Linked DNA regions of Homo sapiens: all the other regions are linked to region 7. Evidence: promoter capture Hi-C in human tissues and cell types (Jung and others, 2019). All regions are on one chromosome and are shown on one strand. The core of a region is centred on a gene start or on the middle of the fragment in contact, and the rest is flanking DNA. Distances in the headings are between cores, read along the strand shown.

Region 1 (2,700 bases), core at 43-2,542, 1.5 Mb before region 7:
GTTCTAAGATCCTTGGGGTTCACATAATGGGACTACCTGAGAGCAAAGTCGACTTAATATTAAACAATAAAAATGCCTTTGGGTGGGATCTCTTTTGCATCTTTCTATATTGAAGAAAACAATCATTCTTTGGTTGAAAAATATCTTAATTATTCATAATTTAAAAAAAATTTTAATTTCAAAAAGACCAAAAAGTCTTCTGATCTGCAGCATGATTAAAGTGTAGGAATGCCTTTTTGGAAGGTAATTTGGCAGTATCTATTAAAATTTAAAATTAATTTATCCTACAGACTGGACAATTTTGAGAGTAAAAGACAGTGTTAAGGCTGGGTGTGGTGGCTCACGCCTGTAATCCCAGCACTTTGGGAGGCTGAGGCGGGCGGATCACGAGGTCAGGAGATCGAGACCATCCTGGCTGACACGGTGAAACCCCGTCTCTACTAAAAATATAAAAAATCAGCTGGGCGTGGTGGCAGGTGCCTATAGTCTCAGCTACTCAGGAGGCTGAGGCAGGAGAATGGCATGAACCTGGGAGGCGGAGGTTGCAGTGAGCTGAGATCACACCACTGCACTCCAGCCTGGGCCACAGGGCGAGACTCCTTCTCAAAAAAAAAAAAAGAAAAAAAGACAGTGTTAACTGAATGCAATTCCGGGACAACAGGTGTAAACCAGGACGGCCTCAGGCCACCTGGGACATATAGTTTCAACATATCCCAGCAAATCCACCTTTAAGAATTAGGCTACAGTTCTGCACAACAAATATCATATATACAAGCTTGTTCACTGCAGCAGGGTTTGTTATAACAAAAGGCTGGGAATAACTTAGTGGTTCTGGTTACAATGGAACAGTTAAACAATTATGGGACATTTATATAATGGAATATGATGTAAGTATTTAATAGAATGAAGTAAATTTAATATGTTCTTTCATTGAAGGATGTCTAAGACTCATGATTTAATTTTTACTTTATTAAACTGATTTTTTTCATAATTAGCATATATTTTTACAAGAAACAAATTTTACAAAACCTAATGGATACCAAATAGACTTTATTTAGAACATTGTGCAGTAATACATGAATATATTCTCCCTGTAAAAACGCAACCCCAAAAGCATCTTAGAGTCTAAGGGACTATCCGTTTTTCTCCCGCCCAATCATATTTCCTTCCCATCCCAGAGGTAAACACTGTTAAATTTGGTGTGTGTCATTTCAGATCAAACACGTATGATTTCAGGACTTACATCAAAATAGGATTAAAAAATTGTTTGCTCTGAAATTTACATTTTAAAATAGTTGTTTTTTTTTTTGAGACAGAGTCTTGTTCTTGTTGCCCAGGCTAGAGTGCAATGGTGTGATCTTGGCTCACTGCAACCTCTGCCTCCTGGGTTCAAGCAATTCTCCTGCCTCAGCCTCCTGGGTAGCTGAGATTACAGGCACCTGCCATCATGCCTGGCTACTTTTTGTATTGTTATAGAGATGGGGTTTCACCATATTGGCCAGGCTGGTCTCAAACTCCTGACCTCAGGTGATTTGCCCGCCTTGGCCTCCCAAAGTGCTGGGATTACAGGCATAAGCCACCACGCCCAGTCTAAAATAGTTTATACCTATGTATGAAAATATGTCTTTTATATAAATGAAGAAATAGGATCATATTAATCATGCTGTATTTTTTTGGACAGTTCGGTCTTGTCTTTCTTTTTTTTTTTTTTTTAGACATAGGGTTGTGCTCTGTCACCAGGCCACACTCACTGCAGCCTCAACCTCCTGGGCTCAAGCGATCCTCCCATCTCAGCCTCCCAAGTAGCTGGGACCAAAGGTGCACACACCACCATGCCCTGCTAATTTCTGTATTTTTTGTAGAGATGGGGTCTTGCCATGTTTGCCCAGGCTGGTCTCCAACTCCTGGCCTCGAGTGATCCAGGAGGAAGACTTGGGAGGAGGCTTCCCCAAGTGCTGGGATGACAGGTGTGAGCCACTGCACCATGCCTTACGTGCTTTTCTTAACATGATTCCTACCCCCACTTCATCTATGTTAACAACCTAAAGTATTTTTCTTCATTATCATATATTCAAATCCAAACATTTAAATATAGCTTAAATATGTAAAAGCATCTATGCTGTTTGTTTTATTTATATGTCCTAGACCTGTCTGAGCTGTACTGTCCGATGTGAGCCACAGGTGGCTGTTGGGCACTTGACATGTAGCTGGTCCAAACTGAGCGGCGATGAACACAGATTCTGAATACTTAGTGTGAAAAAAAGGATGTAAAATGTCTCACTAGTAATTTTTTCATATAGATCACATTTTGAAATAATTTTTATGTACTGGGTTAAATAAAATACATTCTTAAAATTCTGGCCAGGTGCGGTGGCTCACGCCTGTAATCCCAGCACTTTGGGAGGCCGAGGCAGGCAGATCACCTGAGGTCAGGAGTTCGAGACCAGCCTGGCCAACATGGTGAAACCCCCTGTCTCTACTAAAAGTACAAAAATTAGCCAGGCGTCGGGGAACATGCCTGTAATCCCAGCTACCTGGGAGGCTGAGGCAGAAGAATCGCTTGAACTCGGGAGGCGGAGGTTGCAGCGAGCCAAGATCGCACCACTGCACTCCAGCCGGGCGACAGAGTGAGATCCCGTCTCAAAAAAAATAAAATCAAATAAAAAATAAAATTCATCTCACCTGTTTCTTTTCACTTTA
Region 2 (2,700 bases), core at 63-2,562, 1.0 Mb before region 7:
CTGTGTAGCCTAAGTGTGTAGTGTTGATAAAGTCTACAGTAGAGTACAGTGAGTGTTCTAGGCCTGTGTAGCCTAAGTGTGTAGTGTTGATAAAGTCTACAGTAGAGTACAGTGAGTGTTCTAGGCCTGTGTAGCCTAAGTGTGCAGTGTTGATAAAGTCTACAGTAGAGAACAGTGAGTGTTCTAGGCCTGTGTAGCCTAAGCATACAGTGTGGATAGTCTGCAGTAGAGAACAGTGAGTGTTCTAGGCCTGTGTAGCCTAAGTGTGTAGTGTTGATAAAGTCTACAGTACAGTGAGTGTTCTAGGCCTGTGTAGCCTAAGTGTGCAGTGTTGATAAAGTCTACAGTAGAGTACAGTGAGTGTTCTAGGCCTGTGTAGCCTAAGCGTACAGTGTGGATAGTCTGCAGTAGAGAACAGTGAGTGTTCTAGGCCTGTGTAGCCTAAGTGTGTGGTGTTGATAAAGTCTACAGTAGAGAACAGTGAGTGTTCTAGGCCTGTGTAGCCTAAGCGTGCAGTGTGGATAGTCTACAGTAGAGTACAGTGAGTGTTCTAGGCCTTCACATTCACCTGCCACTCGCTCATTCACGGAGAGCAACTTGTAGTCCTGCAAGCTCCATTCATGGTCAGTGCTCTACATAGGTATACCATTTTTATCTTTCATAACTTTCTTTTCCTTCATGAGATAAAGTCATAGTCTGTCACCCAGGATGGAATGCAGTGATGTGATCTTGGCTCACTGTAGCCTCGAACTCCTGGGCTCAAGCAATTCTCTTGCCTCAGCCTGCTGAGTAGCTATGATTACAGATGTTTGCCAACATGCTGGGTTAATTTTTTAAGTTTTTCTAGAGTTGAGGTCTTGCTATGTTGCCCAGTCTGGTCTCAAACTCCCGGCCTCAAGCAATTCCCCCACCTTGGCCTCCCAAAGCATTGGAATCATAGGCATGAGCCACCATGCCCAACCTTATACTGTATTTTTATTGTACCTCTTCTATGTTTAGATAAGTGTAGATACATAAATACCTACCATTGTATTACAACTGCCTATAGTATTCAGTACAAGAACATACTGTACAGGTTTGTAGCCTAGGAGCAATAGGCAATATCATGTAGCCCAGGTGTGTAGTAGACTGTCTCATCTAGGTTTGCGTTAGTGTGTCTATGATGTTGACACAAGGACAAAATCACCTAACAATGAATTTCTTGGCAGGTGTCTCTGTTAAGAAGACATGACTCCAGTACTCTCAGGTGTAAGCTCTTTTCCAGTGATGACACCGGCACTCCCTACCCCCATCCCTCTGGAAAAAGAATGATCTAAAATGTTATGATTTAAAGCAAAAGGATATGCAAAGGTGAATCAGAGAAATTCAAAGAAAGGAGGGATTATATTAATGTCATATAAAAATAATTTAAGATAAAAAACAATTGATAGGATAAACTTGATATCTTTTATAAAAGAAATATACCTTTTTTTCAGTTATCTTTGAAACGTTTACCAAAATCAATTCTTGATTGTACACAGACAGCATTGGTTCTACCTCACCCAATGCGTGGGAGCACAGAAACTCTATTAGACCAAAGTAGAAATCAAAACCACTTAGAAAACTAGAATAGAGAACCATAACATGTACTGAAAGAAACAAAGTATACTCAGAAATTGATAATCTGAAAGTAGTAATTTGTAGACTATGAAACCATAGAAAATAATCTTCTGGTTTAAAAAAAATTAGAGGGTTGTTTGAAAAATAACATGAATTTTGCATATAAAAAAACTGAAAGGTTTTGCAAAATACAGTATTTAGCGGTCACAAACAGTGCAGGAAAATAAGAAGTCTACGAGCTTTAAGAAATGTAGAAGATTACTTGGAAAGACATAGTATGTTTGTAGATGATAAGACTGAGCATTATAACGTGTCAGTCTTTCTCGACTACGTTTCTTGAAAGCAGTTTTCCAGGTAATTTTTTAGTGTTCATTTGGAAGAATGAAAGGTAAATAGTGAAATGCCATTTGACAAAAATGAACAAGAAATGTTAATGCCCAAATCTTAGGGAGAGTTTAAGACAGGCAGTCTTGTATTACTACCGTTTTTGTGTAAATTGATTTATATTTTGAGACAAGCAAATTTAGAAATATTTATCGAGTCAAAAATTACTCATAGTAGAATTCCTAAGTAGGCCAATAAAAAAAGAAAAATTAAAATTAAGAAAAAATTATTCATAGCAATCCTTGTTTGGTGAAAGCAGTAATTATACTTTTTTTTAATAGCAAAAAAAAAAAAAAGTAATGAGTGTGGGAGTGGTTAAATGAATTATAAATAAATGTAAAGGGAAGCTACATGCAACCATGAGGCATATTTAGTAATATGGAAACTAACCATGCTGCAGTATTAGTTGGATTATATTTCATACATAATATATATCACACTATTCTGATATTTTTAATTGAGCATATTTCTAGGAGGGGGAGAAAATCATTGTGTTAAATTCTTCATTTTAGGTTAATGAAAAATATATTATTTAATTATTGTTTTTGATAGTGAGGAAATAACACCCAAATTATTTTTTCTTAAGTTGTACTATGTCACATTCTCTTTTTTCCTTATTCTGTGTTTTCTGTATTTTCTATAATGATCAAAAACCAAGAACGATGCAGACTCAGAATTAAACTGTAACACATTCTAGTTTTGTTATCAAAACTTGAA
Region 3 (2,700 bases), core at 111-2,610, 1.2 Mb before region 7:
TTTTAAAAAGAAAAGGAATGGGCTGATATGTGGTACCATATTACAGACCAATTTTAAGTGGTATGATTGCTTTCTCTATTTATGCCTAAATGATCTGATTTGGCTTTTCATGGAAATAATGAACATATTTTTGCTGAAGCAAATGAGAAAATAAGTATGTTTTCAGGCAATGATCTAGGAATAAGTTTAAGAAACATTTTGTCTAGTTTCTAGTTATTGTTGAGAAAAGGAGCTCTATATCAATTATGTTAAGGACCTAAAGTTGTTTTAACAGGAATTTTCCAAAATTTGGATGTTTAATTCCAAATGCTGTCATCTAACTGATCGGTTGTTCATTATCTGGTGTACGTTTTGTACTTATCTCACCCTGGTAAGCTATCAGGAGGCTGAGCTGCTCAAATATTTAGGTTTTAACAGAGGGGTTATGGATGATCTCTTGTAATTAAAATGAGCATTGATTAAAATCTGCTCTTAAGGTCTTTTGCCTCAAATTATCTCTGCCTTGTTTTGCTGAGTGTGAGCCCTGTTCAGCTGGACACTGAGGCATTTGAACAGAGCCTAAGGTACTTTCTGATAGACCCACTGGCACTATGTTATCCGTTCCTGCCTACACGCTCTGTCCATGAGAGCATCTGACAGGTTTCTCAACTTCTATAATCAAAGGAAAACTAACGCCAAAGTTATGGTTCTCCCTTCTATCAGTAAAAAACCAAAAAAGTTAACATTCTTGTTTCTTGTGAGTGCAAATGAATGTAAATTTGTTAGCTTAACCCACTCACATACAAAGACCAGGTGAAAAAAAATATATAGATATATCTGAGTTAGTGAATACCAACCTAACTCTCTAAAGGGTGACAATAACAAGCATGGGAAACTGTGTTAAATAATTTATACACATTTCTTTAGTGCATAGACTTTTAGAACTTTTAGGATGCTAAGTATATTTTGAATCTCTAAGTAGGGTCAACATGATATTGTGTTTTTAAAACTTACTTGACAATTGTACCATGTATATTTTAGGCCTCTTACACACATTGGTAATTGCTAATTGCTAGTCAAGGACTAGCCCCCTGAGCAACAGAAGCTTGTTCTTTCACTGAGTTGTATTTTAATATTATGCCTTTCAGTGAGTACTGATATTAGAAGTCATATGAAAGGCCATTATAGTTGTGAACTGTTGTTAAGGACATTGTTCAGTGTGTTGATTAGCATTCTTGGAATAAATCCCTCCTGTGATTTAATACTTGGTGAAACTGTATGTTTTTACTTTCTGTCAGTTGAGGATTATATAAGCCATTATGCCTTCTTTTTTGCCTTGCTTGTAAGGCATCTCAAATAAATGTGACGTACAAATACTCAAATGTAATGCAGAAATTATTCAGCTCTCATGTTTAGCATGCTAAGAATTTTTACTCTCTCTTTTTGTATTTGGGCAGTTTGATAGTTAGATATCAGCTTTTGAGCCTTTATTTGTAATAGAGGGATAATACCTACCATTTGGATTGTTACGAAAATCAAGTGAAACGTGCTTCGTTATTTGCTTAGCCATGTATCTAGTACCTTGTAGAATGCTAAGTAAATGCTAGCGTGCTTTCCTTTTTCCCCCTTCCATAATTTTAATATGTTCTGTTTCTGGTTTTGCAGTCTTATTTCATACACATCTTTACTTTGAATCAGCTCAGTCTTGTTTAGAAGTGAGTGAAGTGTAAATGCTAAAACAAAAATTATGAACAGCACATTGATTTTGTAGACCCAGAAATTGAGGAGCAGATTTATAATTTTTGAAATAAGAATGAGTAAGTGGTATCAGGCATTTCAGTAATGGAAATTCCAATTTTCAGAATATAACACGAGAGACATTTGATTGAGGCTTCTTCTACTCACCAGGGCTAAATATTAGATGATCTGGATTTTATTTCCATATGAAAGTGATTCCGTGTGAAAGGAGCCGTCGCCTTTCTGATCCAAGGCTCAAGGATAGTGTCCTTCCCTTTAGTCCATTCATCTGTACATTGGCAACTGACTCAATGGTCTCTTTAGCCACATCAACACATGGCTAGGATCATGGCTTAGGTGACCATATAATTTGTCATCAAAACCAGAACTTTTCAGAGTGAAAAGGGGCACTATTAATATTTAAGCCAGGACATAGATACAAACCTAGACACATCCAGGACAAACTGGACATTTAATGATTTTAGCTAATAGTTCTTTTTATGTTGCTTTTAAAACAAAGAGATTTTATATTTGGGGGTGTGTTAGCCCTCCTGATATTTCTGTAGCAGCACAGAAATTCAGAAGGCTGTCATCCCTATTTTGAGTCTTCTGAACCACGTTTTATTTTCTAATTTGGAGTGACATTTTCCTTTTGTATTCAAAATGACTATTGTTGAATCCTGTTTAATCAGTTCCAAGACCATCTTATACATTATTAAGTAAGCTGTAATGGCTCTTTCTTTGGACTCCACTAGCCAGGTAATAACCAGGGGACAAATGAAAGCACAGAGGTGAAGCTGAGGCTTTTAATGTCCTTGCATAGTAATTGCATATTTGGCAAAGACTCATCCTGGATTATTTTCAGATTTAGAATATTGCTTTTATTTTCTATTGTGCAGTTACATTTGGACTATTAAAATTTAATGTTTATGACTCTTGATGTTCAAAACCAGTATAAATGAAAGTTAAATTTTAGGTCACCTA
Region 4 (2,700 bases), core at 4-2,503, 1.4 Mb before region 7:
CTCCCAGGCTCAAGTGATCCTCCCACCTCAGCCTCCTGAGTAGCTGGGACTACAAGCATGCACCACCACGCCCGGCTAATTTTTATATTTGTAAAAATATAAAATTTTTATATTTATATTTTGTGTTTATAAATTGTATGCCAATTTTTGTAGAGATGGGGTTTTGCCACCTTGCCCAGGCTGGTCTCAAATTCCTGGCCTCAAGCAATCCACCTTGCTTGGCCTCCCAAAGTGCTGGGGTTACAGGCATGAGCCACTGCACCTGGCCATCCATGTAATTTGTATGTAGGGCTGATGCACACACCTCTGTAAGTAGTGCTGGGGTTACAGGCGGGAGCCACCATGCCTGGCCATCCATGTAATTTGTGTGTAGGCCTGATGCCCACACTTCTGTAAGTACAGCTCAGGTTACCAGCATGAGCCACTGCGCCTGGCCATCTATGTAATTTGTATGTAGGGATGATGCATACATCTCTGTAAGTAGTGTTGGGGTTACAGGCATGAGCTCCCGCGCCCAGCCATCTGTGTAATTTGTACATAAATCCATGTAATTTGTATGTAGGGCTGATGCATACGTCCCTGTAAGTTGTGCATTATGCCTTGTAATCAGCAGCCCATAGTCATTCAAAGTCTCGCCAGAGGATGGGTAAAATGTTAAAATAATTATTTTAACAAATTTGATCATTTAATATTTAACTCTGAATGAGCTGTTGACTAGACAATATTTATCTAAAAATAAATGTTAAAAGTGGCAATAGCCTGGGTGCAGTGGTTCATGCCTGTAATCCGAGCATTTTTGTGAGGCCAAGGTGGGAGGATCACTTGAGGAGGCCGGGGATTGGAGGCTGTAGTGAGCCATAAACTCACCACTGCATTGCAGTGTGGGACACAGAGCAAGCTGACCTTGTCTCTAAAAAAAAAAAAAAAAAAAAAATTGGGAGGCAGAGAGCGCCAACAAGACTTTGAGATGAGCCTGGGTGACAGAGCAAGACTCTATCTCTAAAAAAAAAAAAAAAAAAAAGTGGTAATAGACTAGTAAAAGGCAATAGACTAATAAAAGGCAATCTATTATTTTTCATCTTGCCACCTTGTGGCTATTTTGAATGAAAATATCAAGAAAATAGGGAAATAAGGAATAAATGTTGTAAATCATAGTGCAAAATATTAAAAATGCTCCTGGTAATCTCAGTGGACTAGAAACATGTTACCAAGATTCTATTCAATATCAAAAAGTATTGGAATTGAACAGACAGAGAGTCTCACTCTGTTGCCCAGTCTGGAGTACAGTGGCACAATCATAGCTCACTGCAACCACAAACCCCTTGCTCAAGTGATCCTGCCTCAGCCTCTTCCCTGAGTAGCTGGGACTACTATGCCCACCACTATGCCCAGCTAACTTTTTACGATTTTTGTAGAGATGGGGTCTCACTATGTTGCTCAGGATAGTCTTGAACTCTTGGGCTCAAATGATCCTCCCACCTAGCCCCCCAAAGTGCTGGGATAACAGGTAGGAGCCACCGCACCCAGCCCAAAATATTTTTTTACAATTGTTGTTGTTGGAGGCTTATTGATGGTTTGTTGCTAAGCTGATACACAGTTATGTACCTCATATTATGGTATATAATATACCTCATTGATTATATATTGTATATATATTATATAATATACCTTATATATATAATACCTCATAATGAGGCGTGTTCGTTATACCTCGTTTCAGTCAGTAGTGGACCAAATGTACAATAGTGGTCCCATAAGATTATAAAGATGCTGTATCTTTTACTGTATCTTTTCTATTACTTACCATTGTGTTACAGTTGCCTACAGTATTCAGTACAGTAACATGCTGTGCAGGTTTGTATCCTTGGAGCAATAGGCTATGCCATATATCCTAAGTCTGTAATAGGCTATATCACATAGGTTTGGGTTAAGTACTCTGTAAGATGTTCAAGCAACAATGAAATCACCTAACAGTGCATTTCTCAGGACATACCTCCATCATTAAGCAATGCATGACTGTATAAGGAAGTTTGCGGCTTTATAATGTATTTACCAATGATGGTTACATCAAAATGTGAAAAATGATTCCCTCTTTGTAAACTGCCAAACAGCAACTTCTGCTGTTTATAGTTACTGAACTTTGACATGAACCAAAAGAAGTTAAGAATATTTTTTGCAGAAAGGAAAAGGATGAAAGAGGTAGGCATAATAATTTTTTCAAACGGCAGTGATTAAACTAGAATTCGGTGTAAAAATTGATTAGAGTATGTGAAAGCCTAAACCTGCTATTAATATTTTCATTATAGGTTAGCTATGAAACTTTAGAAATAAGCATAAAGTTACTGGAAGCTCTTAAACTAAATAAGATTGCTTATATATAATAAGTTAGGCTTTTTTTTTTCTTCTTATTTCAATAGCCTTAGGAATACAAGTGATTTTTTTGGTTTCATGGATGGATTGTTGAAGTCTGGGCTTTTAGTGTACCCATGCCCAAATAGTGTACATTGTACCCAGTAGGTAGCTTTTTATCCTTCACCCTCCTCCCATCCTTCACCCTCCTCCCATCCTCTTCCCTGCTGATTCTCCCGTGTCCATTATAGCACTCTGTATGCCTAAGTTAGACATTTTGAATTCAACTTAGAAGCCATTTCTGTCACCGTGAACTGATAGATGCATGAGAAAGAATTAAGTACATTTACT
Region 5 (2,729 bases), core at 230-2,729, 1.3 Mb before region 7:
ATTTTTATATTTTTAATAGAGACGGGGTTTCACCGTGTTAGCCAGGATGGAGAAGTCTCGATCTCCTGACCTCGTGATCCCCCTGCCTCGGCCTCCCGAAATTCTGGGATTACAGGCATGAGCCACAGCTCAAGTCGTGACAGACTTTTTAGCTGAAAACAGTGGTCCCCAACCTTTTTGGCACCAGGGACTGGTTTTGCGGAAGATAGTTTTTCCAGGGATATAGAGTGAGGGGGGCGGATGGTTTCTAGATGAAACTATTCCACCTTGGATCATCAGGTATTAGATTCTCATAAGGAGCATGCAACTTAGATCCCTGCCATGTGCAGTTCACAATAGGGTTAGTGGTCCTATGAGAATCCAGTGCCACCACTGACTGTGATACGGGAGTGCTGGGAAGGGAAGAGTGTGGTCCCTTTAAATGATGAGGAAGGGGGTAAGGGAAGTGCTGGGTAGAGGAGGGCATGGTCCCTGGCTAGGGCGCTACCCCCATCGACCTAGGTGAGGACAAGCACTTCTGCCTTTGCGCCCAAATGTTGCATTTTCCAAGACTACCCTGGTCTACCACGCCCCCATCCTGGGCCTATAAAAACCCAAGACCCTAGCAAGGCACAGACAGAAGCAGCTGGAGGGTGAGAGGAACACATTGGTGGAAGAAGACAAGTGGCCGGACATCGGGAGGACGTGGAGGGTGTCACACGTGTCCATGTGAAGAGACCACCAAACAGGCTTTGTGTGAGCAATAAAGCTTTTTAATCACCTGGGTGCAGGCGGGCTAAGTCTGAAAAGAGAGTCAGCAAAGGGTGGTGGGATTATCATTAGTTCTTATAGGTTTATCTTATAGGTTTATCCCTATAAGAACTTATCTATAGTTCTTATAGAGATAGGCGGTGGAGTTAGGAGCAATTTTTGCTAGTGGGGGGTGGATCTTACAAAGTACATTCTCAAGTGTGGGGAGGATATTACAAAGGATATTACATTCTCAAGGGCGGAGGAATATCACAAAGTCCATTATCGCAAGGGCGGGGAGGGGGTATTGTCACAAAGTCAATTGATCACTTAGGGTGGGGAGGGAACAAATCACAATGGTGCAATGTCATCGGTTAAGGCAGGAACTGGCTATTTTCAGTTGTTTTGTAGTTCTTCAGTTGCTTCAGGCCATCTGGATGTATACGTGCAGGTCACGGGGGATATGATGGCTTACCTTGGGCTCAGAGGCCTGACAAAGGGGAGCACGCAGGCAGAAGAGCACAGCAACAGATGCCAGCACGCTGGGAGGCCGTCGGCCAGCAGAACGACGTGGAGTTTGGCTGGGACGGTTGGAGGAGAGCCCAGGTCACCGAGCGCCCGACTCCGGGAGAAAACCATTTCCCTTCTGGCTCCCCCATCTGCTGAGAGCTACTTTACTCAATAAAACCTTGCACTTATTCTCCAAGCCTACATGTGATCTGATTCTTCCAGTTCACCAAAGCAAGAAACCCCAGGATATAGAAATCCCTTTGTCCTTGTGATAAGGAAGGGGGTCTAATTGAGCTGACTAACACAAGCTGCCTACAGACGGCTAGATTAAAAGAGCACCTTGTAACACATGCCCACTGGGGCTTCAGGAGCTGTAAACATACACCTCTAGACACTGCCATGGGGTCCGAGCCCCACAACGTGCCCATCTGTATGCTCCCCCTAGAGGTTTGAGCAGCAGGGCGCTGAAGAAGCAAGCCACTCCCTCTGTGGCAGAGGGGGACAAGGGAACCTTTACTCTACTTTCTCTTCATGTTTCTTATAAGTGGAACCATATAATATTTGTCGGTTTATCCGTCTTGTAGCATGTGGCAGAATGTCTGTTGCTTTTTGGTCTTAGAGAGTATAGGTGTGAAGATAATTTTTCCTCCCCCTCTGGCTCTGAAATTTGAAAGTGCTGAAATGACCTGACATTAGACTGATTAACAGGGGAAGAGGCATATAAATGTATTAATGTGCAGAAGCACAGGGGCCACACAGTATATGAGACTCAGAGAACTGAAACCACCTTGCTAAGGTTATGATGGTTAGAGAAATCCAACACAGCTGACTTTATCTTGCTTCTGACCCCAGAAGCTGACTATCTGCTCATTCCTGGGTGTAGGTCAAGCTAACTAAAAAGGAGTTTAGTTTACAGTTTAACTTTAAAGCAAGGATGATAATAGTCCCTTCCTGAAACTGGTCCCCTTCTTGCTTGGGAACTGAAACTGCATTTGTAAAACTAATGAAAGTCAATAAGATTAGAATTATGATAAGGGCCTGAATTCTGCTAAGTAATAAGCACAGTGAAGAAGAGATAACCAGCCATTGTTCCCTAGCTTGGTTACTGCTGGAGGTCACAAGATTTGAGATAACATCACCACTGTAAACCCTAAGATGGGTTTTTGAGATATTTTTCAGACCTTTGCATTCTGGTAAACTGACTGATGCCATCTGGACCATGACTCATACCAAGGAACAGACTCAACTCGTCCTGTGACCCCCACCTAGAAACTGACTCAGCACGTGAAGACAGTTCCAACACTCCAGTGATTTCATCTCCAACCAATCAGTAGCATACATTCCCTGGCCCTCAGCTTGCCAAATTATCCTTAAAAACCCTGGGCTCCAAGCTTTCGAGGAGGTGGATTTGAGAGATACCTCCCCTCCTTCTGCTCAGCTGCCTTGCAGTAATTAAACTCTTTCTCTGCTGCAACACCCCTACTGTTCTC
Region 6 (2,763 bases), core at 61-2,560, 1.3 Mb before region 7:
TCTTGTTGGCCAGGCTGGAGTACAGTGGTATGATCATAGTTCACTGTAGCCTCCAACTCCTTGGCTTAGGTGATCCTCCTGCCTTAGCCTCCTAAGTACCTAGGACTCCAGGCATGTACCACCATGCCCGGCTAATTTTTAAAGTTTTTCCAGTGGTAATGTCTTGCTTTGTTGTCTAGTCTGGTCTTAAACTCCTGACCCCAAGCAACCCTTCCACCTCAGCCTCCCAAAATGTTGAATTACAGACATGAGCCACCACACCCAGCCCTGTTAATTTTTATTTGTTATTATTATTGTTATTAATTTTTTTTCCTTTTTTTGGAGACAGAGTCTCACTCTGTCACCCAGGCTGGAGTGCAGTGGTGTGATCTTGGCCCACTGCAACCTCTGCCTCCTGGGTTCAAGTGATTCTCCTGCCTCAGCCTGTCAAGTAGCTGGGATTACAGGCATGTGCCACCATACCTGGCTAATTTTTGTATATTTTGTGGAGATGGGGTTTCACCATGTTGCCCAGGCTGGTCTTGAACTCCTGAGCCCAAGCGATTTGCCCGCCTCAACCTCCCAGAGTTCTGGGATTACAGATGTGAGCTACCATGTCTGAACTGTAAATGTTTTTAAAAAGGCATATTGAATTTTGTCAAATGCCTTTTTCTGCATCTATAGAAATGATCATATATTTTTTGTTTTTCATTCTGTTAATGTGATGTATCATGTTTACTGATTTACTTATGTTAAACCATCTTTGCGTCCCTGGGATGAATCCCACTCCATCATGGTGAATTATCTTTTTTTTTTTTTTTTAAGACAGAGTCTTGTTCTGTTGCCCAGGCTGGAGTGCAGTGGTGAGATCATGGCTCACTGCAACTTCCACCTCCTGGGCTTAAGTGATCCTCCCAACCCAGCCTTCTGAGTAGTTGGGACTACAGGCATGTGCCACCACGCCCGCCTAATTTTTGTAATTTTAGTAGAAACGGGGTTTCGCCATGTTGCCCAGGCTGGTCGTGAACTCCTGGGCTCAAGCGATCTGCCCACCTTGGCCTCTGCAAGTACTGGTGAGTGCTCTTTTTGATGTGCTGCTGAATTTGGTTTACAAATATTTTGTTGAGGATTTTTGCCTCTATGTTAATCAGGGATATTTGTCTGTAATTTTCTTCTTTTATTGTGTCTGTCTGGTTTTGCTGTCAGAATAATGCTGGCTTTTTTGAATGAGTTTGGAAGTATTCCCTCCTCTTCCATTTTTTGGAATAGTTTGAGAAGAATTAGTACTAGTTCTTTAATTGCTTTTTAGAGTTCAGCAGTGAAGCTGTCAGGTCCTGGGCTTTGCTTTGATGGGAGACTTTTATCTTGGATTGTATGTGTTAGGAATTTATCTCTTTTTTTATGTTATTGAGTTGGTTGACCTATAGTTGTTCATAATATTACGATCCTTAGTATTTCCATTGTAATAGCTCCTTTTCCATCTCTGATTTTCTTTATTCGAGTCTTCCCTCTTTTTGTCTAGCTAAAGGTTTGTCAATTTTGTGTTTTTTAAAAAACCAGCTCTTTGTTTCATTGATCTTTTGTATTGTTTTTCTAGCCTCCATTTCATTTATTTCTGCTCTTATATTTTTATTATTTCCCTTATATTTATGTTGGGTAGTTCAAGCAAAACAGGTAGCATCCTAAAGTATGTGAAATCTAATTCTGTCAAATGATGTGTCTCTCCTGTCCTAAGTAATAGAGTCACAGCAACTTGCCATTGTTTTATTGGTAAGTGTATTTTATTTTTAAATTTTATTTATTTATTTTTTTTGAGATGGAGTCTCACTCTGTCGCCAAGGCTGGAGTGCAGTGATGTGATCTCAGCCCACTCCAACCTCCACCTCCTGGGCTCAAGTGATTCTCCTACCTCAGCCTCCTAAGTAGCTGCGATTACAGGCACACGCCCCCATTCCCGGCTAATTTTTTTGTCTTTTTAGTAGAGATGAGGTTTTGCCATGATGGCCAGACTGATTTTGAACTCCTGACCTCAAGTGATCCACCTGCCTTGGCCTCCCAAAGTGCTGGGATTACAGGCGTGAGCCACTGCGCCCAGCATTTTTAAAAAAAAAATTTTAAAAATTATTATTCTTTTTGAGACAGGGCCTCACTCTGTTGCCCAGGCTGGAGTGCAGTGGCATGATCATGGCTCACTGGAGCCTTGATTTCCCGGGCTCAAGTGATCCTCCCCCATCAGCCTCCTGAGTAGCTGGGGCTATAGGCATGTGCCACCATGCCCAGCTCATTTTTAGTTTTAAAATTTTTATTTTAGGTTCAGGGATACGTGTGCAGGTTTTTTATATAGGTAAACTCATGTGATGTGGGTTTGTTGTATAGATTATTTTGTCATCCACATATTAAGTCTAGTATCCAACAGTTATATTTCCTGATCCTCTCCCTCCTTCCAACCTCCACCCTCAAGGAGGCCCCAGTGTCTGTTGTCCCTCTTTATGTGTCCATGTGTTCTCATCATTTAGCTCCCCCTTTAAGCAAGAACCTGCAGTATTTGGTTTTCTTTTCCTGTGTTAGTTTGCTAAGGATGATGGCCTCCAGCTCCATCCATGTTCCTGCTGAGGACATGATTTTGTTCTTTTTATGGCCGCATGCATAGTATTCCATGGTGTATAGGTACATTTTCTTTATGCATTCTACCATTGATGGGCATTTCAGCTTTTGCTATTGTGAATAGTGCTGCAGTAAATATACATGTGCATGTGTCTTTAGGTTAGAATGATTTATATTCTC
Region 7 (2,700 bases), core at 75-2,574:
CTTGGTGGGCGAGCAGACTTCATTCACCTGCGGGGAAGACACGCCGGTGTCAGGGGCTGCAAGGCGGCGGGCTGCAGCGCCCAGGAGCTGGGTCATACGTGCGCCACCAAGTACCCGCTCGAACCGCCCACGGGAGTCGGTTGGGGACCTCTCCAAGCCCTGCGGCCAAATTGCCCTCCGTCTGTCTCGTTAATTGTCCTTAAGTGAGTCCCCACCGCCCAGGTGACCCCTGCGCTGGTCCCCGGTGGCCTCCTCCTGGGGTCAGGAAGGGGACTCGCTCGGGGCCGTTTCCACGGCTTCTGCAAGGCGGGGGGGATCCATAGGTTCAGCGCCCCACGCTTTTGAAGCCGGCACCTATCCCAGCAAGATCCCGGGAACAAAATCCTGGAAGACCCTATGGGGGGGGTAGGGGGAGGGCTGTGATTTCAGGATTTTTATTCATACGGGGTCCAACTCTCCGGATCCTGCAGGTAAACGAGAGGCTCTCACGGCTCCAGCTAAACGATCCGAGGTACTGCCCAGCATTCATGGGAAACCCTCCCCTTCGGCTTCACTCTGCCTAGAAGTGCAGGAATGCGGCAAAAGTTACGGGTGCGTGGAAAGGAAGGAACGAGAGGGCTGAAAAAATTCCGAGAGCGAGGCGAGCGTGCGGGCGTCCCCGCGGCCGACCCGCCTCCGCGCACTCACAACCCCGCCAGCCCCGGGGGCGCCTCTGCAGCGGGGGAGAGCTCGGGGCCGGGGCCGCACGATCCCGGGGAAAGGGGGACCTCCGCCGAGATGGGTCTGGTAACGCGTCTCCGCGTCGTACCGTCACAACTTACCCCGTATTTCTTGCCCCTGGTGGAGACCGCAAGCCTCTCTTTATTCCCAGCTACCGAATTCATGGTGGCTTTTCCAGAGGAGAGTATCTAAAGGTTCCACCGACGCTACATCCAGAAGGTCCTCCAACCCAGAAGCGTCCCCCGGCTGCAGGGGGCTGGCTCTCAGCCCTCAGGGCAAGGTTTCTTCAGCGGTGGGGTGGGAGGGAATGAAAGCAAATGGATCCCACAAGTAATAGCACCAATTTGCAGAAAGGGTTGGGGTCGCTGGTTTATTCTTCTCTTCAAAGCATGCTTTTCCTCGTCCCCTTCTGCCTCTTCCAGCCGCACGTCCTCTTGTCACGGCCACATCCACAGAACTGGCATTTTCTTCAGCCAAGTCAGTCCGTGCTCCCCCACGAGGAAAGCGAGGGATACAATCAGGGCTCGCGGCCGCTGCCGGGAAGGTGGGAGAGCCGAGCCGAGTCAGCTGTGGGAACTTGTCTCCTTCACCGAGCTTGGTAACTGAGTTCAAAGAAATTCTCCCAAAATATAAAGATCCAGACTCGGGGAGGAGCCTCGGCGTGTCGCCGAGCCAATATCCGCCGGCCCGTTTCGCCTGACAGTTGCGCGAGGGCCGGGAGAGGGGCGGCTCCGCGTGGCCCGGGAGCGGTCGGCGGTCACAGCGCGCGTGTGCGCCCGGGCGCAGCGCGGAGGAGCCTCGGGAACCTGCCGCCCTCGCCGCGCCGGCCGGGATCCATTTTATGTGGCGGCGCTCGTGCCTGACATTGCGAGGCCTGGAGCCGGGCTGGGGCTGGGGGCGGGGGATCGTCGATCTCGCCGCGTGCGGGGAAGTTCCTGGCGCGCGGCCCGGGCCCGGGGCTCTAATGAAACGCCGCTGCGCGAGCCTGGAGCCCGGGGGCCGCGCGAGCGAGCGTGGCTGGACGGAAATGCGGTGCCCCAGCCTCCCCCGCCCCCAAGTTCTTTCTCTTCCTGACAAGGCTTGCAGGTCTGTCTGTGAAACGCCGTGCAAAAGGGATTGAGTCACAAACAAGTCCACAAACATGCCGGGTCCTCCCCCCGCCCTTTGTTCTCGGAGAGCTGCCGGGCAAACCTTTTCTGGAATTGCCCTACCGACCCCGGGCCGGCCGGGGGGCCACCCTCCCCGACCGCAGCCGCAGGACTAGGGCCCTTGGTCCCCCGCCCGCCCGAGCCCCGGTCTGTGATGGACTAAGCCGCCCGGGGCTGGGACAGGTGAGCCTGGTGACCCAGCGGGCCGCTGCCGGGCAGGGGAAACTGAGGGCTTCGCCGCGCTGCACGCGGACGACTCTGGCCTGGAGAGGGGGTGTGGCGCGAGCTGGCCTTGGCCTCTCCTTGCGTGGGATCGGGCCCCTCGCCCCCCGCCGCCCGTTTCTTCCTGCGCCTGGGCCCCGCGGGGTCTCCGGAGCACCCCGTCATCGCTCCCTCTCCGATCGCCCCCCGCCCCAGTCCCCCGGCGCAGCGCCCAGGAGCGCAGGAAGCCGGCGTATGCCAGGCTCCACACGTGGCTGCTCTGGGGTGTCATTTTTCATTTCACGGGAGGACATTTCTTCTGGTGAGCCAGCAGGTCTGTTTTGTTGTGACCTTTAATTAACACCCCGCGAGACGCCTCTGGAAGGACTGGCCGGGCGCAGGGATCACGTGGGGTGTAACGGCATCTCCGCGCCCGCGGGGAGACCCAGCCCGGGGGTGGGCGAGGGCGCGAAGGACGTTCAGGGCTTTCTGGTCGCTGACTTCCTTCTGAGCTGTGGACGACGCAGGAGGGGGCAAGAAGACAAAGGTTCGGGGTTCTGGAAGCCTGGGGCCACGCCCCCACTCTGCCTTCCTCGGGGACAATTTCTTCTGTGCCTCCCGTGCTCTGCCC

The links. Contacts are between HindIII fragments. The study calls those that stand out against the background at their distance.
Region 1: a fragment that was not itself captured here is called in contact with the fragment with the promoter of KIF26B in region 7 in 1 of the 25 tissues and cell types used here (lymphoblastoid cells).
Region 2: a contact is called between a fragment that was not itself captured here and the fragment with the promoter of KIF26B in region 7, in 1 of the 25 tissues and cell types used here (IMR-90 fibroblasts).
Region 3: a contact is called between a fragment that was not itself captured here and the fragment with the promoter of KIF26B in region 7, in 1 of the 25 tissues and cell types used here (lymphoblastoid cells).
Region 4: a contact is called between a fragment that was not itself captured here and the fragment with the promoter of KIF26B in region 7, in 1 of the 25 tissues and cell types used here (hippocampus).
Region 5: a contact is called between a fragment that was not itself captured here and the fragment with the promoter of KIF26B in region 7, in 1 of the 25 tissues and cell types used here (dorsolateral prefrontal cortex).
Region 6: a contact is called between a fragment that was not itself captured here and the fragment with the promoter of KIF26B in region 7, in 1 of the 25 tissues and cell types used here (dorsolateral prefrontal cortex).

The regions. Positions count from the first base shown.
Region 1 is chr1:246,662,350-246,665,049 of GRCh38, reverse strand. All of the region lies in intron 10 of CNST (consortin, connexin sorting protein), which reads right to left. Among named protein-coding and RNA genes, the nearest start is that of SCCPDH, 61 kb to the left of the region's middle. The HindIII fragment of the contact is 3,484 bases long and covers 1-2,700 here.
Region 2 is chr1:246,169,991-246,172,690 of GRCh38, reverse strand. All of the region lies in intron 5 of SMYD3 (SET and MYND domain containing 3), which reads left to right. Among named protein-coding and RNA genes, the nearest start is that of SMYD3-AS1, 63 kb to the right of the region's middle. RefSeq lists a silencer at 1,599-1,658 and a cis regulatory region at 1,798-1,971. The HindIII fragment of the contact is 4,220 bases long and covers 1-2,700 here.
Region 3 is chr1:246,335,501-246,338,200 of GRCh38, reverse strand. All of the region lies in intron 2 of SMYD3 (SET and MYND domain containing 3), which reads left to right. Among named protein-coding and RNA genes, the nearest start is that of SMYD3-IT1, 14 kb to the right of the region's middle. The HindIII fragment of the contact is 6,069 bases long and covers 1-2,700 here.
Region 4 is chr1:246,541,220-246,543,919 of GRCh38, reverse strand. The region is part of intron 7 of TFB2M (transcription factor B2, mitochondrial); the gene reads left to right. Among named protein-coding and RNA genes, the nearest start is that of LINC01743, 18 kb to the right of the region's middle. The HindIII fragment of the contact is 6,053 bases long and covers 1-2,700 here.
Region 5 is chr1:246,417,322-246,420,050 of GRCh38, reverse strand. The region is part of intron 1 of SMYD3 (SET and MYND domain containing 3); the gene reads left to right. Among named protein-coding and RNA genes, the nearest start is that of SMYD3, 89 kb to the left of the region's middle. RefSeq lists an enhancer at 2,310-2,604. The HindIII fragment of the contact is 3,336 bases long and covers 1-2,729 here.
Region 6 is chr1:246,466,199-246,468,961 of GRCh38, reverse strand. The region is part of intron 1 of SMYD3 (SET and MYND domain containing 3); the gene reads left to right. Among named protein-coding and RNA genes, the nearest start is that of SMYD3, 40 kb to the left of the region's middle. The HindIII fragment of the contact is 8,621 bases long and covers 1-2,763 here.
Region 7 is chr1:245,153,609-245,156,308 of GRCh38, reverse strand. It overlaps KIF26B (kinesin family member 26B), which reads right to left and starts at 1,324. Exons shown (of 15, transcript NM_018012.4): 1 at 822-1,324; 2 at 1-27. The coding sequence starts at 884. RefSeq lists a silencer at 1,783-1,982 and enhancers at 1,837-2,512, 2,513-2,700. The HindIII fragment of the contact is 11,465 bases long and covers 1-2,700 here.